2 separate regions of the Homo sapiens genome follow, and region 1 is linked to region 2. The links are contacts of gene promoters, found by promoter capture Hi-C in human tissues and cell types (Jung and others, 2019). All regions are on one chromosome and are shown on one strand. Each heading gives the region's core, a stretch centred on a gene start or on the middle of the fragment in contact. The rest is flanking DNA. Distances are from core to core; before and after follow the strand shown. Region 1 overlaps RASA2 (RAS p21 protein activator 2). Region 2 holds the start of TFDP2 (transcription factor Dp-2).

What was found. The method cuts DNA at HindIII sites, captures the fragments that hold promoters and counts their contacts. A contact is called where the count stands out against the background at its distance.
Region 1: a fragment that was not itself captured here is called in contact with the fragment with the promoter of TFDP2 in region 2 in 2 of the 25 tissues and cell types used here (heart right ventricle and thymus).

What each region holds. Positions count from the first base shown.
Region 1 is chr3:141,593,965-141,596,715 of GRCh38, forward strand. The region is part of intron 19 of RASA2 (RAS p21 protein activator 2); the gene reads left to right. Among named protein-coding and RNA genes, the nearest start is that of RASA2-IT1, 70 kb to the left of the region's middle. The HindIII fragment of the contact is 4,526 bases long and covers 1-2,751 here.
Region 2 is chr3:142,148,256-142,150,955 of GRCh38, forward strand. TFDP2 (transcription factor Dp-2) reads right to left here and starts at 1,289. Exons shown (of 13, transcript NM_001178139.2): 1 at 928-1,289. RefSeq lists silencers at 785-834, 1,065-1,134, 1,195-1,404, 1,515-1,564 and an enhancer at 934-1,434. The HindIII fragment of the contact is 11,710 bases long and covers 1-2,700 here.

The sequences.
Region 1 (2,751 bases), core at 238-2,737, 550 kb before region 2:
AGTAGAAGTAGACCCCTAGATGATCTACATGTTGGAATTAGCAGACGTGAACGTTAAAGCCTCTATTATAAATATTTCAAGGACTTAGTGGAAAAGTAGTCATCATGAGTAAAGAAATGGGGAATCTCAGCCAAAAAAGAAAATAAAAAGGGAATCAAATGGAAATTCTAGAATTGAAAAGCACGATACCTGACATCAAAAATCTGATGGGCTTAACAACAGATTGGTTCACTGAACTTGAAGATCGATCAGTAGAAATGAACCAATCTAGAACACAGAAAAGACTTGGGGGAAATGAACAAAACCTCAGTGACCCTTTAGTACAATATCAGGTAGTCTAACATATGCATGGTTGGTGTCCTAGAAGGAGAGTAGAGAAAGAATTGGACAAAAAAAAAAATTTTTTTTTGAAGAAATAATGGCCTAAAATTTCCCAAATTTGGTGAAACAGTATCTTATAGATCTGAGAAGCTCAATGAACTGCAAGCATGATAAACGCAAAGGAAACCGCACTTAGACATAAAATAGTCAAACCAGAGATAAAGAGAAAATCTTGCAAGCAGAGAAACAAAAGACAAGATACATACACAGGGGAACAACAGTACAGTTGACAGCCAACTCCTCATAAAAAGCAACTAAAACTGGAGGACAGTGGAATGACCTGTTTAAAATGCTAAAGGAACAAAAGTCTCAACCTAACATTCTAGAGAAAATTTTCTTTGAAAATGAAAATATATTTTAAATAAATGAAAGCTGAGAGAGACTCCATTGTGAGCAAGCCTGCACTATAAGAAATGCTAAAGGAAATTCTTCAGGCTGAAAGGAAATAATACCAGATGGAAACTTAGATCTACAAGGAGTAAAGAGCACTGGAAATGGTAAATATGTGGGTAAATGTAAGAATGCCTGTTTTTTTTTTCTCCATTTCTTTAAAAAGCAACTGTTCGATGCAAAATGTATAACATTTAATTATAGGGTTTATAACATATCTGGATATGAAATATATGACAGTAACAGCACAAAGGAAGGGGGTGGAGTAAATTATTCCAAGGGTCTTATATTTTATGTGAAGTGATGCAAGAATAATTTTAAGTAGACTGTGATGAGTTAAGGCTGTATATTATAATATCTAGAACAAAAATTTAGGGAAATACTTGACATAACTAATCCATCCCCTCTCCTCCTCCCAAACAATAAATAAATTAAAATGTGAGGAAGGGAAGAACAGAGGAGCAAAAATCAGATGAGACAGACAGAAAACGTATAACAAAATGATAGCTTAAACCCAGCCATATCAATAATTACAGTAAATGTAAATGAACTACAATACATTGAAAGAGACTATCAGACTATATTTTAAAAAGCAAGATCCAATAATATACTTTCTACAATATATCCACGTTAAATATATTATAAAAGCACAGATAGGTTGAAAGTAATTGGGTGGAGAAAGATGATGTAAACAGTAAGCAGTAATCCCAGACCAAGTAGATGTCAAAACAACTTTTACCAAATATGTTTGGGCACATTTTATAATGGCAGAAGGAGCACATAATCCTAAATGTGTACATACCTAATTACAACTTCAATGTAGTTGGAGAAAAAAACAGAATTGAAATAGGACATCTACAATTCTAGTTGAATTTTTTTTTCTTTTTTTCTTTTTTCTTTTTCTTTTTTCTTTTTTTGAGACAGGGTCTTGCTCTGTCTCCCAAGCTGGAGTGCACAGACATAGCTCACTGCAGCCTTGACCTCCTGGGCTCAAGAGATCCTCCTGCCTCTGCCTTCTGTGTACCTGGGACCACAGGTGGACGCCACCACATCTGGCTGATTTTCTGATTTTTTGTAGCTGCAAGGTCTCACTTTGTTGCCCAGGGTGGTCTCAAACTCCTGGACCCAAGTGATCCTCCTGCCTCGGCCTAGAATTAACAGGTATGAGCCACTGCACCTGGCCTGTACTTGAATATTTTAATAGTCTTCTCTCAGCAATTGTTAGAGGAGCTGAGCACAAGAACCAGTTTTCTTACAGAAGTTTGAAATAATACTATCAGTCACCTTGATCTAATTTACATTTATGGGACACTAGGCCAAACAGGTGCAGAATACATATTCTTTTGAAATGTGCATTGGAACATTCAGTAAAATAGGCCGCCATATGCTGGGCCTGGAGTCTCAGTAAATATCAAAAGATTGACTTTTTACAAAGTATGTTCTCTGATCACAACAGAATTAATGACAATATGATACCTGGAAGAGCCCCAAATATTTGGAAATTAAATAAAATACTTCTAAGTAACCTATAGATTGAAGAATTCACAAGGAAACTCAAAAATATTTTTAACTTAAATGATAATGAAAATGCAACAAATATATCAAAGTTTGTGGGATACAGCTAAAACAGTATGTAAAGGGAAATTGATTGTTATTAACAAGTAAAGAAAATCTTTGAGCCTTTATAGGTTAGGCAAAGATTTCTTACATAACTAAATGTATGGTCTATAAAAGAAAATATTTGATAAATTGGATCTCATCAAAATTCAAAAACATTTCAAAAGAGGACCATTAAGAAAATGAAAAGGTAAGCAACAGACTGGAAGAATATATTTGCAAAACGCTTATCTAATATACTTGTATCTAGAATTTTCAAAAACCCAATTTAAAAAGAGGACGATAGATATGAACAAACATTTTATCAAAGAGATTATACAAGTGGATAATAAGCATATGAAAAGATGCTCAACATCATTATTA
Region 2 (2,700 bases), core at 39-2,538:
CCTCTGAGATGGAATGAGGAAAAGATAAAAGTATTCATGGGCTCAAAGGCAGCTTCAGCAGTGAATATGGAAAAGGAATGAGCCCGTTCACTGTCTCAACACTAAAAGGGAAATAATATAGGGTCTTTTTCTAAACCAGCATCCATGGCAGTCAATAATAAAAGTGCCTAACTAATGCAAGGCATTTAATACGTGGAGGATTTTCTTACGATTGCATTCCATACATTAGTCCATTCACTCCCCGAAACACACCGAATAGGTGGATGCATCTAATTTACAGATGAAGAAACCGAGATCACACAATGGGAGATAGCACAGGCTGGTAAGAGAGACTGGGGCGCTCATCCACTTCGTTGTACTGTCTCTCAGCGAGATCCTAGGAAAACCCTTACACTTCTTTGTGAAGACAGACCTTGGCTTTCCAGATTTTCTCAAAGGAGTCTGGGCCCAAAAAGCGATCCTCTACTTCAGAGAAAAGTTCCTTTATGGGGCATATGAGGTTCTTCCAAGCACACAAAGCTTAGAAACTCTTTAAAAACAAACAAAACACCTGGTGGACACAGAGGCCTGTGAGTCATGAAAGGAGAAGGGAAAAATCGGAAAACCAGATTTAGAAGCCATCCTTCTTTGAAGAGAACGAGAAAGTAGAAAGCAGCCCTTCCCCTCTTCCACGAGGCGTGACTCAGGGACGTTACCTCCCCCGATTTGCTCTATGCACTAAGAGGGTGACCCTCCTCTGCTTTCGACTCTGGCCCAGACACTCACGGGTTACCCGGCCAGGCCTGGAGAACCCAGGTCTAAACAGATGGGACTCGTGGGGGAACAAGGGGGCCCCTGTGCGCAGGGAGGGAAACCTACCCAGGAACGCGCCCGGCCGGGTCCAAAGGCCCTCCGCGCGCGGGCCCGCGCCCTCGCCCCAGACCTTACCGCCTTCGGCTGCAGAAGAACTGGCGGCCAAGCGAGGCTGTCGGGCCGAGCCAGGAGCGCGTCTTCGGGCGCCGCCGCTTCTGTGGCGCCCGCGCTTAGGCGGCGGCCGGGTCCCGGTGGACTCACACCCGGGGAGACGCGGCCTGCCCGGTCAAGGCCCAGGAGTTTGAGGCCCCAGAACGCCAACCGTGCGCGCGCCCTCGAGCCTGCCCAAAGATGAAGGGTCAGGGCGCGCCCCGCGGGCCGGGCAGCTGCGGCAGCGCCGCAGCCGAGATCGCTACCGATTTCGTCCGCCCTCTCCCTGCCCAGCTACAGCCCCGCTTCCCCCGCGCGAGCTTTGGCGGCGGAGCAGCACAGTGCGCGCCGATTGGCCCTCAGAATGTGCGACGCCTGGCGCCGCTCCCCACGGATTGGCCGGGCCGGCAGTGCGTGCACGGAGTAAACAAACCCCGCCCCCAGGCTTCCCTTTGAGAGTAGGGGGCCAACAGATGGAGGGGCGGGACTCGTGCACTCAGCCACCGCCCCTTGGTTCCCCCTGTGGCCTCCCTGGGAGCCCTCCGCAGGACCCGACCACCCCGCTTCCCCGCCGCCTCCAGGGACAGCTGCGGGCCTGAGGCCTAGAATTTTAGACACACTTCCTTCATCACTCCTATCTCATCCCCCCTACTCCCACCCTGCGACTTGGGTGGGAATCTCTTTTCCAACTGACCCCGAAGCCAGAAAACCCCAGCTCTCTTGGAAGGAGGGGGACTGGGGCAGTTCCATTCGGTCCCCAGGCCTTTGCGGGGTCGCCCTGGGGGAGCATCAATAAGGGACAGGGGGGCGAGTGATCGTGATTGAGGCTATGCGTGGGGCCAACTGTGGGACACCTTGAAATTATTCAGACAATGAGTTAGAGACCACTGGGAATGTGGAGGTTCTTCAATATCAAGGCAAGTTAATACCCAAACCAGGACAGGTCATTCTGTCCCGCGGAAACTGCACACACCCCAAATACCCGTACACTTGGTTCCATATGAAAAGATTTTGTTCATTCGTTCGTGCCGAAGTTAAAAACCCCGTGTGAACAGCGCATTAAAACGATTAGATCTTTCTCATTTTACTCCAGTCAAATCTTATAGATCTTCTATATGCCACTTTGTTTGTTTTTGAGACGGGGTCTTGCTCTCACCGAGGCTGGAGTGCGGTGGCAGGATCACGGCTCATTGGAGCCCTGACTTCCCAGTCTCAGGTGATCCTACCACCACAGCCTCCCGAGTAGCTGGGACTACAGGCCCGCGCCACCACACCCGGCTGTTTCGCCATGTTTCCCAGGCTGGTTTGGAACTCCTGGACTCAAGAGATCCTCCCGCCTGGGCCTCCCAAAGTGGTGGGATTACAGGCGTGAGCCACCACGCCCGGCCCCAAACACTATTCTTGATATGGGGAGACATCAGTGGACAAAATAGAGACAAAAACTCCTGCCTTCATGGAGCTTACATTCTAGCAGGATGGGAAAGATAATATGCAAAAGAATACGTAAAACAAAAACTATATTACATGCTGGTATGTGTGCTATGGGAAAAAAATATAAGCAGAGGTGTTGGAGGAATGGCTTCAGTCCTAAATAGAGTGATCTGGGAAGGTAGCACGGAGAAGGTGGTATTTAAGCAAATGCCTAAAGGAGATGAGATAGGTAAGAGAGCACTTTCAGATCTTTCTCTGGGGCAGGGTGGAGAGACAATTGTATGCATAATTGCATGTAACTAGTCCTGAGAGTCCAAGAATGTCAAA